2 separate regions of the Homo sapiens genome follow, and region 2 is linked to region 1. Evidence: promoter capture Hi-C in human tissues and cell types (Jung and others, 2019). All regions are on one chromosome and are shown on one strand. The core of a region is centred on a gene start or on the middle of the fragment in contact, and the rest is flanking DNA. Distances in the headings are between cores, read along the strand shown. Region 1 holds the start of NSUN4 (NOP2/Sun RNA methyltransferase 4). Region 2 holds the start of RNU5D-1 (RNA, U5D small nuclear 1).

Region 1 (5,680 bases), core at 680-3,179:
GAAGTACTAAATGCTTTCTTCTTAAGAATGGGAACAAGGCAAGGATGCCTACCATCACCACTTACATTCAACTGTGTACTGGAAGTCCTAGCCAGTGGAATAAAGCAAAGAAAAAAAAAAGGGATATAGATAGAAAAGAAAGAAGTTAAAGTGTCTTTATTTACAAAAGACATGACCATATGCATAGAAAACCTGAACAGATTTCCAAAAAGTTACCAAAAGTAATAATTGAGTTTAGGAAGGTCTCAGGATACAAGGTCAACAGAAAAAATCAATTATATTTTAATATACTAGAATTTTTCTTTTGAGACAGAGTCTCACTCTGTTGCCCAGCCTGGAGTGCAGTGGCATGATCTCAGCTCACTGCAACCTCTGCCTCCTGGTTTCAAGTTATTCTCCTGCCTCGGCCTCCCAAGTAGCTGGGATTACAGGCATGAGCCACCATGCCCAACTAATTTTTGTATTTTTAGTAGAGACTGGGTTTCACCACGTTGGCCTGGCTGGTCTCCAACTCCTGACCTCAGGTGATCCACCCACCTCGGCCTCCCAAGTGCTAGGATTACAGGAATGAGCCACAGTGCCGGCCAGCCTTTTTCTTGAAAAATGAACAAAGTGAGCCTGTCACTTCAAGGAAAATAACTGACAGTATTTGTTGCCAATAAGAAAATTCCAAAATTCCACATTCAAATGCCAAATAAGAAAAAGCTTTCGGCTGGGGGCAGCGTGAGCCACCGCGCCCGGCCAAGTTTTGTATTATTTTTCTTAACTATGTCTTCTCAAATTGCGGAAGCGTTAGGCCCCACAACATTTGACATCACCAGTAGGGATCCAGTGGAGAGGAGGGACATGATCAGAAACTGTGTTTTTAAATGATCATTCAACAGCCAATTATCAGGGTGGGTAGGAGTGAGGCAGGGAGATCAAAAGGCAGGGAGATTGGCTGGGATTACAGGCATTGTTACCAGAAAGGGGTCCCGATCCGGACCCCAAGAGAGGTTCATGGATCTCGCACAAGAAAGAATTCAGGGCGAGTCCGCAATGCAAAGTGAGAGCAAGTTTATTAAAGTACAAGAATAAAAGAATGGATAGTCCATAGATAGAGCAGCTCCAAGGGCTGCTTGCCCATTTTTATGGTTATTTCTTGATGGTACGCTAAACAAGGGGTGGGTTATTCACGCCTCCACTTTTTTTTTTTTTTTTTTTTTTTTTGAGACGGAGTCTCGCTTTGTCGCCCAGGCTGGAGTGCAGTGGCGCGATCTGGGCTCACTGCAAGCTCCGCCTCCCGGGTTCACGCCATCCCTCAGCTTCCCGAGTAGCTGGGACTGCAGGCGCCAGCAACCTCGCCCGGCTAATTTTTTGTATTTTTGGTAGAGACGGGGTTTCACCGTGTTAGCCAGGAGGGTCTCGATCTCCTGACCTCGTGATCTGCTCGCCTCGGCCTCCCAAAGTGCTGGGATTACAGGCGTGAGCCACCACGCCCGGCCAGGTCCCGAAACTTAAGCTTCATTTGTTTCACTGCAAATCTGCTTCTGCCTACAAGCCTGGTCTCATTTTCCTCTACCTAAGGATCTTCCTCCATGCAATTTCGGCCTAGGAGGCCCTTCCCGCCCCTTTTCGCCTAGCTAACTCTTTCGGTACTCAACCACCAACTCCTAATCCTCCCTGGTCCCCCAAGTGGGCTAGGGGCTTCTTGGGAGTCCCTCGCACTGCTCTAAGCATCCAGGCAGAGTCATTATTCCGGGTGCCAGGTTGCTCTTTTTCCAGCAGCCTTCAGGGGACTCCTGGCTGGGCGGAGTCTGTAGAGGCGCGCGGAGTCCTGGGAGAGCGTCAGATGTATTTCCTTTCCCTTTTTTCGCTCGTGTCCCGCCGGGTGGCGCTCACCACCTCCCCGGAACACGCGAGTCTCCTGTCGCGGTTCCGGTCGGAATTACCCCGTGGAGCACGCCGATATGGCTGCGCTGACACTGAGGGGTGTCCGGGAGCTGCTGAAGCGTGTGGACCTCGCGACGGTCCCGCGGAGACATCGATATAAGAAGAAATGGGTAAGGTCCGGCTGGGGGCGCAGGAGGGAAAAGTGAGGGTGGAAACTTCTCCAGTCTTTCCGTTTCCCGGCCCTCTAGAACGCCTAGCGTCTTTCCCAAGCACTCCACGGAACGTCCTTAGGCACCTCCCTCTCTCGTCTTTTCCGTCACCGCCTCTGTCCGCACTCTATGTCCCGAGCGTTAGTGTCTTCCACTTGTTACGTCTGCAGTCTCCTGACTCCGCCCAAGTTGCGTCATCACCTTCGCCTTCATTCTTTTAGTGATGTCACTGTCTCTTGTTCCCCAGCTGTGTCCACCTACCTTTCTGTCCCCCACTCCCCCTTTTACTTCCCTCCCTCCCCTCCCCCTTTCCCTTGCCCATTCTTCCCCCACATGACTTCTCCTTTCCTCATTGATTTTCCAGCCCGGTCGCCCTCACCCCTCGGAAAATACCATAGCGACCTTGCCTGCACTCCTGGGTCTCCGCCGCCTTGCAGGAAAGGATTCAGCCCCTTCCTCAACCTCGAGCTGCCTCTGGCGACCGGGCAAGGTTACAGCGACCACCCTGTCCATACTGCCGGCCCAAACCCTGGCAAAAGGTGCAACGAATCCTCTCATCCTCTGGACTCTCCTTGCTTCTCCAGAGACCCTTTTTCTTGCCTCACTGGAAGCCCTGGAATTTCTTCTATGACCGGCACGCCCCCCTGCCCACCCCAGCCGATTCCCTCGCCACCTCCACCATCTCTTCCACCCCCACAACCTTCCTCGCACTCAGGGAGATGGTCTTTTGAGTCCTCTTCCCCACTCCTGGAAAGGACCTACTGCCGCTAGCCCTGCCACTCGGGTTCCCCACTCTCCAGCCCTTATTTTGAGCAGTTCAGCATTCCGGGGTCACCCCCTCTCTGTCAGCGGACACCTTATTGCAGCTGGATGAGTCCCTCCAGAATGCGGCGTCCCTGTCTTCAAGGCACGTACTGTGACCAGCACACTAATCTCTGTTACTCTAGCGGATGGCCTTCAGCTTTTGGAACCAGCCCGGCAACCTCCTTTCCCCTTGCTCATCAGTCCCCGGGAACGAGCCCAGTGACCTCCCCTCAGCTCACTCATGTACCCTTGGAAACTGGACCCATGATTTCGCCTCCTCCTACACATAGGACCCCGGGAACTTGCCTCACGATTTCACCTCCTCTTGCTCGCCGGCCGGTGGAAACTAGTCCTATGGCCTCCCCAACCCTTTCTCACAGAGTTTTGGAAACTGGGCTGATGATCTCTCTGCCCTCTCACTGGTTCTCAGGGAGAAGTTATAATGACCCCCTTCTCTCCCCAGCATCTTCCCCACCTACTGGCAGCTTTTACCATGGCAGCCTTAAGCCTCTAGACTCTTGTGAACCCAAACCACAGCTTGACCTGCCCCTTGAGAAAAATTGTTGTGGCTTCCCACTCTCTTCTCAGGCAGGCATGCCTGGCTCTCCCAGCTCACCTCAGGAGGGCTCTTATCATTACTCCCATCTTTCCTCAGAGGCCTACATACCTACCCCTGGGAGTCCTTGCTATGCCATCTGCCTGTGCCCCGGGAGTACTGATTCTCCTTGCTCACCCCAGTCCCAGGCTCCCAGGAAGGCTTGCATTGAGTCCCTTCTCTCCTGGGAGGCAACTGGGAACTCTTACCTCATCCTAACCCCGGACACCACAACTTCTGGTCCCCCCTGTTCCCAGGAACCATCTCGTCCCCATGGTCCTCATTCTGTCCTTTCCTTCCCTTCACCCCTGGGCAACCAGTTTATATCTCCACCCCAGTCACTTCCCCGCAGAAGCTATAATGAACCCCCTCTTCCCACTCCAGTTTCCCCCCAACCGAAGTCCCCTAAGTCCCCAGAGTTAAGACAGTCACATACTCCCCACAAATGTCTCTCCCTAGTCAACACTCCCCAGCACACCCCTTCTGGCCAGCCCAAGCCCGCTAAGGCCCACACCTGTCCCCCACCTCCCTCCTGCCTCTCTGGTCCTTCTTGTATGCAGCCATACATCACAACTCCTTCAAATTCCAGCCCCAAAGAACTTCCCCCAGGGACTACCTTACTGACTGTGGTCCCTAGAGCTCTCAAAAGTGTTATCCCCACTTCTTTTCCCCTCTGCCTTCCTTGTGATCCTGTCTCGGCCAATAGTTATGCTCAGAGCAGCCGCCATGGACCCTCCATAGGGCCCCCCTGCAATACCCATATATGCTCTGTGGTTCCCTCCACCCCCCATCCCTGCCCACTGTCTGGCTCCCTCAATCATTCGACAGGCCCCCCTCCCATTGTGCCCCTGTGTGACACCTATAGCACTCCCAGGGGCCCACCCCAACCTCGTTGTCAGCCTGTGATGCCTCCTTGTTCTACCCACATCTATTCTTTTATCCCTTTGAGAACACCCTTTGATCCTCAAAGTTTACCCATTGTCCCCCGAGTCCGGGCCTACCCTGATACTGTCCCCTGTGGCCTCCATATCTACCCTGTGGCCTCTCAAGGCCCTTGCAAAGAGCCTCTGCAGATCCCCTACAGCTGCCCTTTGCCTTCATCCAAGGATTCCAGCTGTAGCACCAATCCCAGCTGTAGTTCGACTATTATTAGCAAATGCCAGAGTAGTGACAGCGAGAGCAGGAGTTCCCACCAAAGCCAAAGCCGGAGCCAAAGCAAGAGTCCCCATGATGGCAGAAGTCAGAGCTGGAGCAAGAGGCATCATCTGAGCAGAAGTCCAAGTCAGAAAAGCAGTCCCTATCCTAGCAGAAGCTGGGGCCGGAGCAGTAATCCTCAACAAAACACAAGTCAGGGCCAGAGTGAGAGTCCCCAACTTAGCATAAATGAGCACCAGGGTGAGAGTCCCCAAATTAGCAGAGGTCAGGGCAAGAGCAAGAGTCTATGATGGCAAAAGTCGGAACCGGAGCAAGAGTCCCCAACATGGCAAAGGTCAAGGCCAGAGCAAGAGTCCCCAACATAGCAGGAGCCAGAGCAAGAGTCCCAGCGAGGCAAAAGTCACAGAGCAAGAGTCCTCACCATAACAAGAAATGAGGGCCAGAGCAAAAGTTCTGACCAGACCAAAAATCTAGGCCAGAGCAAGGCATAGATAGTAACAAGATTGCCAGCTATAGCAAGCATCCCAGCTGCAGCAACCAGGACCGACTTGTGCACTCCTCATCTGAAGTCTTCATTTCTCTTTTACTCTGCCTCCTTGTTCTTGTCCTCTTGTCCCCTGCTACCCCCATAGCAGTCATCCTAGAAGTCCCTGTTTTGGTTCACACCTCAAGATTCTGTGGGCCCTCCTTATCCAACCTTTCTGGGGTCTGGGAACTCTCCCAGCATGACCCTCAAACCTCTGATTCTAAGCATGGTGGTGCTAGTCACTGTGTGACGCTAGGTAAGTTACCCACATCTCTTCATCAAATTGAAATGTTGTTAATTTTTTTTTGTATCTTACTGAGCTATCAGTTGTAGTGCTCACATAAGCTAGTAGACATGAAAGTGCTTTGAAAATAGAACTGTTCAGAAGAAAAGGGCCTTTTGCTTTTAAGTTCAAAGCTTCCCAGAGCCTCCATAGTTTCTCCTAATCTTCTGCAGGCTCTCCTCAAGAGTCCTCTCCTGAGCTCCCATATTCCTAAGTTCCTCTTTCTCCAAGGTCCC
Region 2 (5,884 bases), core at 2,690-5,189, 1.6 Mb before region 1:
AAAAAAAAAAAGCAGATCCAGAGGGAAGGGCCACCAACACCCTAGAAGGTTCAAGGGCATAGCCTGAATAGAGGGCCTCACCTCCACTCCCTGATGGCCTATGCACCCTTTCCTCCAGAACACCCTACCTACCTGGTTTTTCTCCGGTTGTTACAGACATTAAAGGGGGTCGTTTGATCCTAATGGGTCCTTTCCTTGCCTGGAACCATTTGCACCAATAGAACAAGGCCAGGTTCCATAAAGCAGAGCAGAAGCTTTATTCATTGATCTAGGAGATAGCAACAGGAGGCAGCCAAATGCCTAGGCAGATAGGGGTGGGTCCCCAGTGAACCCCACCTTCAAACCAAAAACAGCCTGAAGGCTGAAAGACCGACTGCTGGTCCTGGATGAAACCCACAACCCAGAGTGAGAACTTCTGTTTCTGTTTGCCTGCCCTTTCCTGATTGATTCTTTCTGAATAATGCCTTTTAACCAATTGAATGTTGCCTTTTCCAATACTACCTATGGCCTGCCCTTCCCCCATTCTGAGCCCATAGAAGCCCTGGACTCAGCCATATTAGGGGGACTTTCCCACTTTCAGGTAGGGGGACCACCCCCCACAGCCACCGAAAGCTGTTTTATCACTCAGTAAAACCCCACCTTGCTCACTCTTCAATTGCCAGTGCATCCTCATTCTTCTTGGGCTCGTGGGACGAGAACTCGGGAACCAGTGCATAAGCTAGACTCCGCCAACTGGACTGAGCGGGTGGGTCGTCTCCTGCAGCAAGTAAAGGCCATCTCCTGCAGCAGGTAGCCTGGCGAGTGAGACCTGGCAGGGCATTGCTGGCCAGAGGTCCCCAGCTTGCAAAGTGACCAAGAAGAAAACCTTACATCATAGGAATGGAGGAAGGGGAGCTCATGCTCAAAGCACCTTCTCCCAGGGGGAGGGGCCTGGTAAAAAGGGAGTCTCAAGGGAACTTAGGGCAGGTAGGTGGAGACTGGGTTGAGGATTTCTGGAAAAAGGTAGGTTCTTCCAGGAGGGGCTGGAGTGTGCATAGTCTTTTTTTTTTTTTTTTTTTTTTTTTGAGACGGAGTCTCGCTGTGTCACCAGGCTGGAATGCAGTGGCACAATCTCGGCTCACTGCAACCTCAGCCTCCTGAGTAGCTGGGGCTACAGGCATGCACTACCAAACCCAGCTAACTTTTGTATTTTTAGTAGAGATGGGGTTTCACCATCTTAGCCAGGCTGGTCTCGAACTCCTGACCTCATGATCTGCCCGCCTCAGCCTCCCAAAGTGCTGGGATTACAGGCGTGAGCCACCACACCCAGCTTTTTTTTTTTTTTTTTTTTTTAGACAGGGTCTCTGTTGCTCAGGCTGGAGTGCAGGGGTGCAATCTCGACTCACTGCAACCTCTGCTTCCCAGGCTCAAGCAATTCTCATGCCTCAGCCTCCGGAGTAGCTGGGACTACAGATGTGCACCACGACCACATTCAGCTAATATTTTTTTCTTTTTTTGTAGAGATGAGGTCTCACTATGTTGTCCAGGCTGGTCTCCAACTCCTGGGCTCAAGTGATCCTCCTGCCTTGGCCTCCCAAAGTGCTGGGATTGTAGGCATGAGCCACTGTGCCTGGCCTGAGTGTGCATGGTGTTGTTTTTTCTTTTGAAGATTTCTCCTCTTCAATCCAGTCTCATTCAAGTTGGAGTGAGGCAGGGCTCCTGGTCTGGAGTCTCTCTTCTATCTGCTTTTACACCCTGCTGATTTCATCCTGTCTCAGAACTTTAAATATCATTATAGGCCAATGACTCCTACATTTCTATTTCCAGCTAAACATTTCCACCTCATCGTGTCTAAAACTGAACTCCTAATCCCGTGCCACTTTCCCCAATTCAACTCATGGCAACTCATCCTTCCTATAAAACAAAACAAAATAGTGGAGTGCTTTTTAATGTCCGTCTTTAGCACCCATATCTATTATGTCTGTTGGCTCTATCTTCCAAATACATCCAGAATCCAACCATATCTCACTACCTCTATTGTTAATACTCTGGGCTGAGCCACTATCATCTCTCTTCAACGTTATTCTGCTTTTCTCCCTCTTCCTGTTCTCTTTTCTTTTAGTTTCTTTTTTTTTGAGATGAAATGTCACTCTGTCACCCAGGCTGGAGTGCAGTGGTGTGATCTAGGCTCACTGGCACCCACCACCTCCTGGGCTCAAGCAATTCTCCTGCCTCAGCCTCCCGAGTAGCTAGGATTACAGGCTTCTGCCACCACGCCTAGCCAATTTTTGTATTTTTAGTAGAAACAGGAGTTCACCATGTTGGCCAAGCTGGTCTCAAACTCCTGACCTCAAATTATCCACTCACTTCAGCCTCCCAAAGTACTGGGATCACAGGCGTGAACCACTGTGCCCAGTCAATACCTGTTCTCTTTTTAATACGACAGCCAGGGTTATCCTTTTAAGCTTCAGATTCTATCACTGGGCTCAAACCTTGGAGGGCTCCCCATTTCGCTGAATGAAGACCCTAGGTGCTCAGGTTTCCCATCACCTCTCTAAACTCTTCTGCCTCTGTCTGTCCTTCACTCTGCTCCAGACACACTGGACTCCCTTGCTGGTTCTTTTTTTTTTTTTTTTTTTTTTAATTGGCAAAGAGGCCGGGCGCGGTAGCTCACGCCTGTAATCCCAGAACTTTGGGAGGCCAAGGTGGGCAGATCACGAGGTCAAGAGATGGAGACCATCCTGGCTAACACAGTGAAACCCCATCTCTACTAAAAATACAAAAACTTAGCCGGGCGTGGTGGCGGGCACCTGTAGTCCCAGCTACTCAGGAGGCTGAGGTAGGAGAATGGCGTGAACCCGGGAGGCGGAGCTTGCAGTGAGCCGAGATCGCGCCACTGCACTCCATCCAGCCTGGGCGACAGAGCAAGACGCCGTCTCAAAAAAAGAAAAAGAAAAAAAGAAATTGGCAAACAAGCTCTTGTCTCAACGCTATTGTACTGACTGTTCACTCTGCCTAGAACTTCATCCCATATATCCACAGGGCTCACTCCCCCATCTCCCTTCAACTCTACAAGAAGGCCTACTCTTTTTAAAATTGCAATGCACACTACCATTCTCTATACTCACCACCTCCCCTCCCACCTTACTCTGCTATTTTTTTCCATAGCATTACCTTATTATGTTTATTAATAGTATGTCCTCCATCTGACTGTAAACTCCACGAGGACAGGGATACTGTTAGGACAATACCTGGCATGCATGAATCAGTGACTGAGGTATTGTGAGGGAATAGTCCCTCCAAGTCGGAGGAAATGAAGTCAGATGGCAGTAATTCTCCAGGATGCCACAAGAGGGCATCACCAGCCCTGACATTGTTGGTCTAAGGCAGTTCTGCTTTCCCCACTTATTTTGAGCCTCAGCTTTCCTCTTTTTGTACCTACAAAGGAGAGAAAAGTTAACAAAATATATTTATGTTTTGTTGTTATGTTTTCTTTAAAGCTAAATGGATTTCCTATTTTATTTTTGCTGATTTTATTTATTTATTTATTTATTTATTTATTTTTGAGACGGAGTCTCGCTCTTTTGCCAGGCTGGAGTGCAGTGACGCAGTCTCGGCTCACTGCAACCTCCGCCTCCCGGGTTCAAGAGATTCTCCTGCCTCAGCCTCCCAAGTAGCTGGGATTACAGGCATGCGCTACCACGCCCGGCTAATTTTTGTATTTTTAGTAGAGATGGGGTTTCACCATGTTGGCCAGGCTGGTCTTGAACTCCTGACCTTGTGATCCACCCGCATCGGCCTCCCAAAGTGCTGGGATTACAGGCGTGAGCCACCACGCCTGGCCTTATTTTTTTATTTTATTTTATTTTATTTTATTTTATTTATTTTATTTTATTTTTGGGGACGGAGTCTCACTCTGTCTCCCAGGCTGGAGTGCAGTGGCGCAATCTCGGCTCACTGCAACCTCCGCCTCCTGGGTTCAAGCGATTCTCTGCCTCAGCCTCCCAAGTAGCTGGGATTACAGGCGCCTGCCGCCATGCCCACGCCCAGCTAATTTTTGTGTTTTTAGTAAAGACGGGATATCATCATGTTGGCCAGGCTAGTCTTGAACTCCTAACCTCAAGTGATCCACCCGCCTTGGCCTCCCAAAGTGCTGGGATTACAGGTGTGAGCCACCGCGTCCACCGCGTCAGGCTGAGAGATCAAGTCATTTTTAGTTTTTAGTCTTTTTTTTCTTTTTATTTTTGGTCATTGTTTGGTTTTAGTTTTTAGTCTTGAAATGTTTTCTTTTGTATAATGGTAAAAAAATAGTACCCCAGAACTTTTTCGGAAATTTTAATAATTGGGAAATCCAAAAATCTAGGAACCACTGGGCTAAAGTGATCATAATTTAAAAAAAAAAAAAACCCTTTAAAAACTAAACTGGCCAAGCGGGAAGCGGTGGCTCACGGGAGGTTGAGGTGGGTGGATCACTTGAGGCCAGGAGTTTAAGGCCGCAGTGAGCTATAATCGTGCCACTGCACTCCAGACTGAGTGACACAGTGAGACCGTTTCTAGAATAAATTAATTAAAAACAAAACAAAACAAAACCACAAAACAAAACCAAATTTTCGCACGGTGGCTCATGCTTGTAATCCCAGCACTTTGGGAGGCCAAGGCGGGCAGATCAGCCTGGCCAATGTGGGAAATCCCCATCTCTATTAAAATACAAAAACTAACAGGGAATGGTGTTGCCACCTGTAGCCCCAGCTACTTGAGAGACTGAAGCAGGAAAATCCCTTGAAGCCGGCAGGCAAAGATTGCTCACTACAGTCTAGTCTAAAACCCCACTTCCAAAAAAATAAAAAACGCACACTCACACCATTACAACAGCCCAAAATAAATGTTCAAACAAAATGTTGTCTCACACCTCGCAACAAACACACAACTTTCTATCTGATTTTTAAACACCGTTGATGAACCCCACCAACATAGGGCTTCAAAAAATTTGCTTGAAACTCAAAACGGTTTCTCTCCACGGAAATCTTTAGTAAAAGGCGAAAGATTTATACGATTTGAAGAGAAACCAGAGCATGTGTTGGAATGGTTGCACACAGTCCTCGGGGGACGGTCACTACTAGATTAGCAATGGTTACTATTAACCCAAAAGAGTGACTTCTGTTTTTGTCTCAGACGATTGTGTGAAAGGAGCTTCGTTATTATGGTAAAGGAAAAGAGGGGGAAAAAAGGGAGAATCTCCTTTTAAAGTAGGACGTGGTCTGTGTGCAGTGCATTGTGGGTATGTAAATGACGCTGAGTCACCACCCCCTCGGTTTCCAGAAATACCTTAAATAGTTCGTTACTTTTTCTAGGCGTTAGGCCACCACCAGGGGGCAGAGCGGAAGCCAGATTTACAGAACTGTAGATGCCTGGTCCAACTAGACAGTGACTTTATTTTATAATTGGCACTTAAAGTAAAAAAAAAAAAAATTAAAAGCTTTAAAATAATTGTATTCATAGGCCTGGCGCGGTGGCTCACGCCTGTAATCCCAGCACTTTGGGAGGCCGAGGCGGGCGGATCACGAGGTCAGGAGATCGAGACCATCCTGGCCAACATGGTGAAACCCCGTCTCTACTAAAAATACAAAAATTAGCTGGGCGTTGTGGCGTTCGCATGTAGTCACAGCTACTTGGGAGGCTGAGACAGGAGAATTGCTTGAACCCAGGAGGCGGAGGCTGCAATGAGCCGAGACTGCACCACTGCACTCCAGCCTGGGCAACAGGAGACTCCACCTCAAAAGAAAAGAAAAGAAAACCACATCATAGCAAATACTGAATTTTGTATCATCCCTCTGCCTTCCACAGTATGTAACAAAGACTCCAAAAAGAGTAGCTTGAACAAGCAAGAAGTTTATTTTCACCTTAC

Evidence for each region. The method cuts DNA at HindIII sites, captures the fragments that hold promoters and counts their contacts. A contact is called where the count stands out against the background at its distance.
Region 2: a fragment that was not itself captured here is called in contact with the fragment with the promoter of NSUN4 in region 1 in 1 of the 25 tissues and cell types used here (hippocampus).

What each region holds. Positions count from the first base shown.
Region 1 is chr1:46,338,878-46,344,557 of GRCh38, forward strand. NSUN4 (NOP2/Sun RNA methyltransferase 4) reads left to right here and starts at 1,930. Exons shown (of 6, transcript NM_199044.4): 1 at 1,930-2,042. The coding sequence starts at 1,950. RefSeq lists enhancers at 331-1,130, 1,791-2,000, 3,128-3,217. The HindIII fragment of the contact is 4,996 bases long and covers 1-3,539 here.
Region 2 is chr1:44,726,118-44,732,001 of GRCh38, forward strand. It overlaps RNU5D-1 (RNA, U5D small nuclear 1), which reads right to left and starts at 5,053; the gene lies at 4,952-5,053. RefSeq lists a silencer at 3,223-3,272. The HindIII fragment of the contact is 5,181 bases long and covers 1,350-5,884 here.